Regions from separate parts of the Homo sapiens genome. Here all the other regions are linked to region 3. Evidence: promoter capture Hi-C in 16 types of primary human blood cells and fetal thymus (Javierre and others, 2016). All regions are on one chromosome and are shown on one strand. The core of a region is centred on a gene start or on the middle of the fragment in contact, and the rest is flanking DNA. Distances in the headings are between cores, read along the strand shown. Region 1 overlaps LOC105375457 (a long non-coding RNA gene). Region 2 has its middle 39 kb from the start of IFRD1. Region 3 holds the start of DOCK4-AS1 (DOCK4 antisense RNA 1). Region 4 holds the start of ZNF277-AS1 (ZNF277 antisense RNA 1).

Evidence for each region. The method cuts DNA at HindIII sites, captures the fragments that hold promoters and counts their contacts. A CHiCAGO score of 5 or more calls a contact.
Region 1: a contact is called between a fragment that was not itself captured here and the fragment with the promoter of DOCK4-AS1 in region 3, in 3 of 17 cell types (endothelial precursors, M1 macrophages and M0 macrophages). The highest score is 12.4, in endothelial precursors.
Region 2: a fragment that was not itself captured here is called in contact with the fragment with the promoter of DOCK4-AS1 in region 3 in 3 of 17 cell types (endothelial precursors, M0 macrophages and M1 macrophages); the score reaches 10.3 in endothelial precursors.
Region 4: a fragment that was not itself captured here is called in contact with the fragment with the promoter of DOCK4-AS1 in region 3 in 2 of 17 cell types (M1 macrophages and M0 macrophages); the score reaches 6.6 in M1 macrophages.

What each region holds. Positions count from the first base shown.
Region 1 is chr7:112,428,388-112,431,206 of GRCh38, forward strand. LOC105375457 (a long non-coding RNA gene) reads right to left here. Exons shown (of 3, transcript XR_001745325.2): 3 at 1-2,819. It also overlaps a transcript of IFRD1 not described here. Among named protein-coding and RNA genes, the nearest start is that of IFRD1, 21 kb to the right of the region's middle. The HindIII fragment of the contact is 2,509 bases long and covers 277-2,785 here.
Region 2 is chr7:112,409,817-112,412,593 of GRCh38, forward strand. No RefSeq gene overlaps it. Among named protein-coding and RNA genes, the nearest start is that of IFRD1, 39 kb to the right of the region's middle. The HindIII fragment of the contact is 5,468 bases long and covers 1-2,777 here.
Region 3 is chr7:111,807,190-111,809,909 of GRCh38, forward strand. DOCK4-AS1 (DOCK4 antisense RNA 1) reads left to right here and starts at 1,316. Exons shown (of 2, transcript NR_103806.1): 1 at 1,316-1,424. It overlaps DOCK4 (dedicator of cytokinesis 4), which reads right to left. Exons shown (of 53, transcript NM_001363540.2): 29 at 2,112-2,212; 30 at 1,632-1,690. The HindIII fragment of the contact is 9,376 bases long and covers 1-2,720 here.
Region 4 is chr7:112,350,182-112,353,280 of GRCh38, forward strand. It overlaps ZNF277-AS1 (ZNF277 antisense RNA 1), which reads right to left and starts at 360. Exons shown (of 3, transcript NR_186626.1): 1 at 283-360. The HindIII fragment of the contact is 1,570 bases long and covers 642-2,211 here.

The DNA of each region.
Region 1 (2,819 bases), core at 281-2,780, 620 kb after region 3:
AAACAGGGAACGAGTTTGGAAAAGCTATTTGCAATGGAGTAGTTAAGAGGCAGTGACAGGTAGATCTAAGGTACTGGAATGAAGAATGAAGAAATAAATGAACTTGAGAAATACTTAGGAAATTAAATGGGCATGGCTTGGTGACTGAAGAGGAAATAGGATGAAGGATAAAAGATGACTCCTGGGGGTCTCACTTGGGTGGCTGGCAAGATGAGGGTGACACTGTTAGTGGCTTAGCTATCATCTGCTTATGAGGTGGCTTATCGAAGGTAAGGAAGCTTAACCTTCAGACTCCTTTCCTTGCATGAAGCCATTCAAAGGCTCTGGGAAGGGCCCTAGCAAATTTTGTATACTTGAATCTGTATTCTTTTTCTTAAACAGAGCCCCTACCCTTTTAAAGCTGGTATTAGCTTCAGACACACAAAACCTGAATCCACCCTGCCCGTCCCCTTTCAAGTCATCTTTCTTATTACCAGTAGATTAATCTTCCTCAAAACAAAACGTTGACATCATGTCAATCCTCTTCTCAAAAGCTATTGTCATCATGACAACAGACTTTATTAACTTGACAGTTTTACTTTGGGGTGGCCCTTTACTGCCTCTAAAATTCATCTCCCTACAAATCTTTCTAGTTCAGAAAAGTAACTTTGACCTGTCTGTCCAAAAGCAGGAAAATAATTTACAAATGTTTGAACTCTTTGGTTCTTAGACCTATCTACCAATTGAGTTGCCTTAGTTGCAATTACTCCGTTGTACTTTCTTGTTTGTCTCCCATATTCTTGCTTTGTTTTTATCCCAATTGTGGCTTTTTCTACTTTAAAACACTTGCCTAATCTCAAACCTGGCTATTCAGTTGTGTTTGGCATGTCTTGTACCTAAAGAAACCACTGGCCTATGCACACATCACTCTGTATCATAGTCGTTGGGCACATCCAGCATGTGATTACACTTTAGAATTCTGTTTTTGGTCACGTTAAGTCAAAGGCAATTTGCACTCTAGAATGTTCATTCAGATGTATAAATCTTTGAACATCAGTTATTCAATAGTTCCAATATTTGGAACACAGCATGCTGTCATCTGCAGTCACAGAGGTGTGCTGGACCATTCTCACATCTGAAAGAAGAGTTGTCTTTGTTGTTCACCACATTGCCACCTGATAAATGGCTTCTAAGGATTTTCCTGCAATCTGAACAGCTGCTACTCTGTGTATGAAAAATCTAATTTTACTTTGTAAGATTTCTTCCCATAATGTCCCGTCTGCTTCAACAGATTCTCACTCAGACACACTAAAATGGGACTCATGATATCAATTTAATATTTTAGCAATTTCAATAAACAAGGCATATTCTTTTTTCTTTCGGGATAAGGCAGGCCTAGCATCTTCCTAAAAAAGAATATACTCTGCAACCTCATGTTACAAAAATTGCAGCTTGGTTAAGTTTTCTATTGATAGTCCTTCAGTTTTTCTTATAAGAGCATAACTCATGAGAAAAGTTGTTATATAAATAAAATATAGAATGTTACTATTAGAAGACACTTCTGAGCCATAGAGCATAGTGCTGATGTTTCAGTCAGCACTTTCTCATCTCCCTTCTTCTCAGCTTCTTCCTACTTCTTTATCCTCTCCATGTCTGTTCCATGTTGGCAGATACAAATCAGAGGTATGGTGGGGTTGACAGCACCTGCAGAGCCCTAAGGGCTTCTTCTCTTGGATAAAAGGACTTGGAGCTGCCCACTCTCATTCCACAGAGGGAGTTAGGAGCCAAGGAAAGCAAAAAATTGTAATCAGCAACGTAGAAAAGATGCAACCTGAGGCAGGTGAAGGATTTGGGAGCCCAATTCTTTTTTAGGAAAATGCTGTTTTCTATATCATAATTCCCTTCTGTTATCCCAAGCCTCCTGATTGTTGTGGTACTTCAGGGATTCAGGGATGGGCATGTGTCAGTGCCGGGAATACAGCAGATAGGGAAGCCTGGCAACAATCTGGAAGGTGGTTCTGAGATGGCCAGGGGTGGCCTGCTGAAGACTGGAGCAGCAGTCTAGCTCTTAGCTGAAGGGACAAGCAGTAGCTAGGGAAGATGTGTGGAACAGGTAAGCATTCCTTGGGGATTTTCAGAAGCACTTAGGAAGGAGAACCTGGTAAAAGTCTAAACTTCCTTTTCATCACAAATGACATGAGCCCTGATTTTTGTTGCCCTGGGAACACTAGAAAATAGAGAAGTCTTTCACATCTGGCCTACCCAAAATAAACCTTCGTGAGCCCATGTCCAGGAATGGGGCTAATTCTCTGCTTCTCTTCCACACATATGTTCACTCCTAACTACTTTTCATCCCCTTTCTATCTCTGTTCATTTTGGGGTTGACCAAGTGGGTGGACTAGACTAAAGGGAGCCAGAAGGATCACCTACTGCAGTTTGCTACTCCGCCAGAAGTGGCCTGGGGTACTCATACAGCCTGGGGCCTGATGTAGAAGATTCTCCCAGCATCATGTTTCACCTAGGTCAGCACCGTGTTCCCCAGCTAATTGATACAGAAGCTCCCCAAAGGCCAGTGAGAGTGGAAGGACCATTCCTTTGAGCTCCTCCTTTCTTCTTCTTTCTTGCCTCATCCTTCTCCTCCCCTCCCTCCCACCTTCTTTTCTTCATGTGTCCTTGATCCTAGAACATTTTCTGCTTATTATTTTTCGAGCGTATTGCTGTTACTACCAGTATCCTGTGTATCCTGTTGTGGCCAGAAAGCTACTGACACCATTAGTGCTTTACAGGGCACAAAGGGAGCTAAGGAAGCTTAAGGCTAGACTAGGAGGTTTCTGTCTTGC
Region 2 (2,777 bases), core at 187-2,686, 600 kb after region 3:
CCCTAAAACATTTCATTGTAGCCTGACACCTCCTTCAGTAAAGTCTTCCTTGATCCATTTCCTTCATAGTATTTCTTCACTGAACTATACTCTTAATATTTTTATACTTTTCTGTATGTATGCTAGACTTCAATAAAAATGCTTGTTTAAGCATTTTCAAAATAATCTTGTATTGAGAGTTACCCTTATCTTAGCTTTAAATTGCTTTGCTACAATCTTTGACAAGTTTAGGAACACATATATGTGAAGGGAGCTCCTTTACCTACATGAGGACCTAACTTGGGGTTCTTTTAAAGCAGTGGTAAGCACATAGTTAAATGACTTGGGGGGCTTATTTGCAGTCACCATTAACTAAAATAATGAGGCAACTTCTGTGTACCCTGGAGAGTCTAACAGAAAACAGAGGTTTTCAAGGGCTCCAGGCTGCATGTGAAAAAATCCCAGCAGCTAAGAGCTTGTAATTTGACATGAGAGTAATGCATATTTGGTTTAGTTTCGTAACTTCAGACTTTTTGAACCAGTTTTTTAAAACAGACATATATGAACTCTCTGAAATCAAGATGATAAGTCATCTGAACTGAAGAGTAAGCTAAATGACTGAAGAGCACTTTGTCATCTCAAATGGAAATATTTGGGGACCCTTTTTCTTAAATACTAAAGACAATGAAAAATGCCTTAGTTTTTTTGAATTTTACTTCTCACTAATCGCTGCCTCAGAGATTGTGTCTGTGATAGAAATAAAAACTTGTCTTTGGGAAGATGAGTGTGTATTTCTAGGTATCCTGCTGGTGCCTTAGCAATTGTTCTGTAAACCCAGCAGCGTTGCCCCCCAACCCCCCCAACTATTCTGGGTACCAATGGTAACACCTATGCCTTGGTTGAAAACTCCCACCATCACCTGGAGAAACTCTTTTATCTCACTGGATGGCCTTGAAAGTCAAGCCACATCCTTGTTGTCTTCTCTGGGTATTTTCTTTTTAAAGTAGGAAGGACAGTTCGGGAAGGTGACCTTCTGATGCAGCTCTTCACAGTTTAACATGAGGCGTAACAGCTGTGTCCTGTGAAATAAGCAACTTCTCCAAACAAGCAACAGTCCTTATTCATCATTCAGATTTTCAGAGGGAGATAAAAATCACTACTTGAAGTTAGCAATGGGTTAACCAAATTTGCAGACCACTCATTTTAACTTATTGTATAACTGTGCGATCTAGAAGGTGGAAAGACACAGTGTAATGGCTTATAGAGGAGATTATAAGAATTAGCTCATAGGTTAAAGATTTTCTGATGAGTTACAAAATGGATTTCACTCACAGGGGCAAATCTCTCTCATAATCCTTGAGGCATTGTACAAAAAAATAAAAAAGCACAGTTACTTTATGCACAATAGTTTTGACATTTTATCAGCATGCAATTAAAATCCCTTTGTCTAAAGTTCTGGTTCTAAATTCTTGAACAGATAGAAGCCCAGAAAGGACTGTGTTATGCATTTTAGAAAGAAGAAATTAATTTGACAACTCATAGAGTTTCGTCCTGGGAGGGAGCGAGTAGTGCGGTGCTGCACTCTATGGGCTGCTGCAGAAACATACAGGATGCATTTTGTCTATCTGCCAAGAAAGTCTTCCCGAGGAAATATCTTCAATCAATTCTCTGGAATAATCTGGCAGCCTGCTCAACACAGATTCTTCTTTCAACAGAAAGAAAAGAGAAATACAATAAATTAAGCAATAGAGGGGAAAAGTAGAACTTAAATATGTTAAAACTCCTCTGGTGGGTGCTGTAGACTGAAAGTTTATGTCTCCTGCAAAATTCATATCGTGAAGCCCTAACCCCTAAATGTGATGGTATTAGTGGGTGGGGCCCTTGGGAAGTAATGAGGGTGAAGCCTCATGAATGGGATTAGTGCCCTTATAAGAGGAAGAAGAGACCACGGACTTCTCTCTCTCTTCACTATGAGGATGCCGCAAGAAGGCAGCCATCTGTAAGCCCAAAAGAGGGCCCTCACCAGAACCCAAGCAGCTGGCACCTTGACCTTGGACTTCCCAGCTTCCAGAACTGTGAGAAATAAATGTTTGTTGTTTAAGTCACCCAGTCTATGGTATATTGTTATAGTAGCCCCAATTGACTAAGACAAAGGTGTTTAAGTGAAGTGAAGAAGAAGTGAAGTGAGGAAAAGGAAAACAACAGGAAAAGCAAGTTGCTGTTGCTCACACATTCAAAAACCAACTTGGATTTGTTCAAGTAGAAAAATCCAGGCAATCATAGACAAATGCCCCAACTTGGAGTTTGGGTGTATATTGCAATGGCATGGATATAAAAAGGAAAGCACAATGGTGTGTTTCCCCCATTGGCTTATCTGGTTTCCGATAATGAAAAAGAGTTTCACAAGCCAGTGTTTGCTCTTCATTAGAACACAGAATGAGACAAACAACGGTTCTGTGTGACTAGATTGTCTGCACTTGAAAGTTTGAATGCCAGAGGTTCTTTTGGGATGTGGCATTAACATGCACTTTAATCTTCTAGGACTTCATCAAATCAGGGAAACGTGCAAAATAGGAGAGAAAACACTTAAACATTAAAAAGGCATCAATTCATTTAATTTATTTAGATATATACTGACAATATGGTCTTTAGATATTATCATTGGTATATACATTTGAATTGGCTTTTTCCCCTCCATTTGGGAGCAGTTTTGCTGATATAGTTTTACTTTTTTTCTCAGATTTCACATGATCAAGAGTATGCCACTGCTGGTTAGATGGGACTGTGATGGATGTCTG
Region 3 (2,720 bases), core at 66-2,565:
AAAAGAGCTTACACAACCACAAGTGCATTCAAACAGATTCAATGCAGCATTCTTTCAAAAACATCTTGCTAAATTAATGTCGAATGCAATATGGACACTACAAGGGCCTTGATCTTCTTTAGGAAAAACAAGGACACAAAGAATCAATGAAACCTGAAAACACTGAAGACTAAGAAGAGCAGTCTCCAAATAAGAAAACTATTTTTGAGCTGCAACTAAAGACAGACCATGATATCTTCTGGCTGGCCTTACATAGTTGAAGGTTGTTTTCAAGATGATAACTCTTTTTTTTTTTTTTTTGAGTCAGAGTCTCACTCTGTCACCCAGGCTGATGGAGTGCAATGGAGCGATCTTGGTTCACTGCAACCTCCACCTCCCAGGTTCAAGTGATTCTCCTGCCTCAGCCTCCCAAGTAGCTGAGATTACAGGCACCCCCCCACCACGCCTGGCTAATTTTTGTATTTTTAGTAAAGACAGGGTTTCACCATGTTGGCCAGGCTAGTCTCAAACTCCTGACCTCAAGTGATCTGCCCGCTCCAGGCTCCCAAAGTGCTGGGATTACAGGCATGAGCCATTGCTCCCAGCTTCATTATTTTTTTTTATTTTTTATTTTTTCTGAAATCACCAGCAAGCATTGAACACTGGGCTTAATTATATATACCAAGGCTCCCTCAAGTTGTTATGTATATTTGAGGAATATACATACCCTATTAAAAAAAAATCACCCTGTAATGATCCTGGTCAAAAATCAGTCTGTTAACATGAGTGGAAGTAAAACAATAATGGTTCTATTTTCATTCACAGAAAATAAATCCTTCCAATCTCCAAGTTGTACTTGGATAAGCCCAAGAGAAAAGATATTTTCAGGTCATTACGTATTCAACTCAAATAGGTCAATCATTTTAATAAATCAAAGAGGAGCATTAAGATGCAGTAATAGTAAATGAATACTAAAAACCTGCATAGTTAACATACCAAATGAAATAACTTATAAATCTCTAGAAAGGGACCCTATGCCAATGAATTTTAAAACAATTTGTTTTCCAAATATTACTGTTTTCTATGCAACCAGATCTGTACCATCAATTTTCTGGAATAATATACTCTATCTGCTATAGCAGATTAACAAAATTGGATCCAACAGTTTCTTAGCAACTGCAGATGCTTTTAAAATCCTTTGGCTATACTCTTTATGATATAGGACAATGGTCTCAAGTTTTTAAGAGTAGTGACGTTCAAGTCAATGTTTCATGAAGTTTAACCTAAATTTATTATGATTCATAGCTTCAACTCAGAGTTCTAGAAATTTTGAGTTGTTACAGTTCCAAATTCTGAAAGGTTGCCTCATCGCTGGAAATATGTGTAATGTTGGAGCAATGCTAGATTATAAAATTTATCGTTAATTAATAATGAAACACACAAAGGTAAGGTGACTTTTCTTAGAGACCAATTTAAAGAATTTGTTGTAACCTCATTCAATGCCAAAGTGTCAATTACTTTCTATAGATGTTTATTGATTTAGACATTTGGTTTCACATGGTGTCACTGGTAAATTGCCTTTCTTCATTTGTACACTTCAAGGTACAGCGAGGAGCTGTATAGTAGATGTGGCTTCTCTTTTCCTCACTTACCTAGGTTTTGCCACATGCTGAAAATTTCACAACCCATTGTTACCCGCATGTCACCATACCTGAAATAGAACAAAAAACCAAACCTGATACAATGCCTCCAGAACAAGGAAGTATTTGTGTGTCTTTAGGATACAATCTATCATTCTGAATTACAAGGCAAGGAGTTTTTAATTAAAGACATTTAATATACATGTCACGATGCCTCTAAGTCAAATTCTGGTGTAAACCTTTTAGTAAAAGAGATCTGTTTCATAATTTTTTGCATCTATAGAAATTTTGAATCCTGAAAGAGCCAGGTCAAAACAATGTGCAAACATGTTTGAAATATCAAAACATCCAGAAAAGACTGCTTCTTGACCCCTTGGTCACTGGTTCTTCACTGTGTGATTTCCAGTTATGCGCATTCTGATTTATGAATCATTTGAACTAAATACTCTTTAAGAGGCAACATTTCTCACCTGATTATACACTGATACTTACTTTTCTAACACCTTTTTCTTCTTGGAAGGTGTGAACATCTCCAACTGCAGACACAACTGGTTTATAAAAATGACTGCGAGGTAAAAGTAGGAATCCCAGATCTAAAACAAGAACAAGATATATCAATACTATGGTGTTACAAGCATATTGACAGGTGAAGTGACATAGTATTTTGGATTTGCTTCAAAAGTGGTTGAGGGTATAGTTGAAGTAAGACTGACCATGAGTTGATAATAGTTGAAGCTGGATATGGGTACCTCATGGGGGTTCATTATACTATTCTCTCTACTTGTACATATGCTTAAAATTTTCTAAAGTGAAGAAGTAACTAAATAAATAAGTACTATTATTATCTAGGTGTATATTGCTCCAAAGCTGTATTCCAGGTTTCACGAGCTTTTTGGTATATGCTAAAAGACAGATGCGTGGTTTCTCTTGTAATATGTCTGAGTATCTCCAAGAGGATGAGGTATAAGATGGATTTCTTTATTCCTGTGTGAGTTCATTTTTGGAACTCCTTTTAACGTAGAACTTGTAAAAAATGCATACACTTCTTCAGATATGCTAATTGCTTTAAATTCAGACATTATATAAAAATTCCCTGCCCAG
Region 4 (3,099 bases), core at 177-2,676, 540 kb after region 3:
ACCCACTCCCATTGGTCATGGGTTGAGGGCTGTTCCCAGGGGCAGTATTAATTCCCTGGCACTTCCAGCTTGCCTCACACATTGATTTAGCATCCTCTGAAGGTAGGGGAAGGCCCTCACACAAAGACTGAGAAACTGTTATTGCAAAAAAGAACTGGCAGATCATGACAGTAACTGCTACAAATCTAGGTGTTGTGTCACCACAGAAGAAAACATTTTATGTAAGGCTCAGTGGTCCTCACAGCTTTTCTATCTCACTTGACAATGAAGATACAATCTTACAAGGTGTCTAGCCAGGAATTTTATCTTCATCAAGGGTAAAGAGACGATGGGAAACAGGATCAGAGAGATGAGGACCTGCCAAAAGAAAAAAGCACAACAAAGTGACATCCAACAATATAATATATGGGAATTTAAAATGAGACAAAGCCAAGTCCTGAGCTTTTTTAATGAATGGAGGAAAAGCAATTCTTTGAGAGGATGGAGTAGAACATGCACTCAGAACAAGAATAAATGTTTTAATGTCAGTACTTTGCTGAATGTATATGCAGAATTGACAGACTCCATCCATTTCCATCAAGGGCATCAAATTTCAACTATTGTTTGCTTAGTCTGCAAAAATAGCCACCCTGCATCCTTGAAGCTTAATTCAACTCCTTCAGTAAGTTTTAGATGATGGGTAGTTAAAGGATTAAACTGCTGCAGTTGAACTCTTATGCCTTATAATTGATATATTGAAAGGCTAAAGCATGTTCGATTCCTGATGATAGCAATCTGCAGTGGCATCATAAGCACATTAAATTCAGACTGAAACATTCAGCGAAGTTAATATTGACTTCACAATGTTCTAAGATGTAAGTGAAGCTATGCTCTTTTTGCCTTATAAAATTAGACTGCAAAAAAACAATTTTTGAGGATATTCCCAGTCAATTGACTTGGTTACAGAGTGAGCAGGAAATCAAACTCTAGTTAAGTTCATAGATACTGGTGTTTTATTCATTTGGAAACAGAAGAGAAAAAGAGTATGCTGTAGTAAATTGTTTATAAATTCTTTTTAATTCTAAAGGAGGGGGAGAAAGTGAAAGTAAAAAGCAAACATTATTAATCTCTTACTGTCACAAAAAAAACAACCCACTCTTACACCTCCATCATTGCCTAAAAGACAAAAACTCCAAAGACTGGCATTTGAGACTCCTCACAGTCTGCCAAAACTGCCTCCTCCCTCGTCAGGTCAGTCACCAAGTCCTTTCAGTTCTATCTCCAAACACATCTCAGTCCCTGCCACCATGGTCTGTTATCTGAACTACTATAACAGTTTCCTAACTGGCCTCCCTCCTTCCTCTCTGGACCCTCCAGTGTGTTCCTTCGTAACAGCTAGAGTGGATTTTTAAAAGTCCTCCCATGGAGTTGGAGACCAGCCTGGCCAACATGGTGAAACCCCGTCTCTACCAAAAATAATAAAATTAGCTGGGCATGGTGGTGCACACTTGTAATCCCAGCTACTTGAGAGGCAGAGGTGGGAGGATCACTTGAACCCCGGAGGTGGAGGCTGCAGTGAATTGAGATTGTGCCACTGCACTCCAGCCTGGGTGACAGAGTGAGACTCCATCTCAAAAAAAAAAAAAAAAATCCTCACATGGTGTAACGGACCTTCTCGGTTACTTACCCAGCATCCATTCTCCTTTCTTTCTTTCCTTATAGTTTTCCAATTCTTTGGGGAGCCACTCTACCCTCATTAAGTAACAGCCATGCCATTTGGAATTGACCCCAGCCCTACCTCCAGGGGGAGGGGAGTGCTGACTAGAGTAATAACTTCACCCTCACTGCAGACTGGCTTATTGGATTAGAGATGGGCAGTAACTAAACCCAAGTCAAAGGTGCATAGCAAGCCTGGGTCACTGTGGCCAGTCCAGGTTGCTCCAATCAGGGAGAAGCTGAAGATTTCTGCTAAATGACTCAGAGAAACTAAGACTCCCTTTCCTTATGAAAAAACAAACCCGTACCCTAGTTGCTGCCAAAGCCGTCAAGTGGCGTTGAGAGAAACTAGCCCAAGAACTTTCAGAGAAGAGCAAAATCAAGATAATTTCTGAGGAAGGAGCCAGAGCCCTCACCTGAGAGCTGTCCTCCTCTGGATTTCTCATTTAGTCGGGCCATAAACTCCCCTTGTATTATTTGAACTTTTTAAGTGGAGTTTCTATTACTCACAATAAAAGCTTCCCAGCTGATACAAATGGCTTCCAGTTGAACATGGAATCAAGTCTAAACTTTCTTTTTCTTCTTTTTTGAGACAGAGTCTCGCTGTGTTATCCAGGCTGGAGTGCAGTGGTGCGATCTCGGCTCACTGCAACCTCCATCTCCCTGATTCAAGCGATTGTCCCACTTCAGCCTCCTGAGTAGCTGGGATTACAGGCATGCGCAACCATGCTGAGCTAATTTTTGTAATTTTGATAGAGACTGGATTTCGCCATGTTGGCCAGGCTGGTCTCGAACTCCTGGCCTCAAGTGATCCACCCATCTTGGCCTCCTAAAATGCTGGGATTACAGGTATGAACCACTATGCCCGGCCTCTACATGACCCACATATCTTCCATCTTGTCCCATGCCATTTTCTGGAGTGCCCACTATTCCCCAGGCAACCAGGCCTCCTTCTGCTCCTTGGACAGGAGACTGCACTTTTCTCTGCCTCAGTGTTTTTGCATGTTTTTCTCTCTGTATATTCTTGCCCCTCCTCTTTACAGTAATGTCTTCCTATCATCCAGGTCTCAGCTTAACTATCACCCCATACTTACCCAGTCCACTGTATATGTCTAAACTAATAGGTCTGCTGCCAATGCGGTTTCAAATTTAGCAACCCCAAAGAAAAGAAGACAGGGGAATGTCAGGCTATCAGCTGGAAATAGTCTTGTGTGCCATAAGCAAACATTGCATTTGGTCTCTTCTTCATCTCCCCTCTATTATACAATAGATTTGTGGGGCCATCTCATGGGGTTGGGAGAATTTGATTCACAAGAGTCCCAGAAGGGTGCTGCCCATGAATCAAAAGCCAGGTAAGGAGCCAGACTGCACTTTGCTGTGTGGGATCTAGAAGGTGGCGTGCTG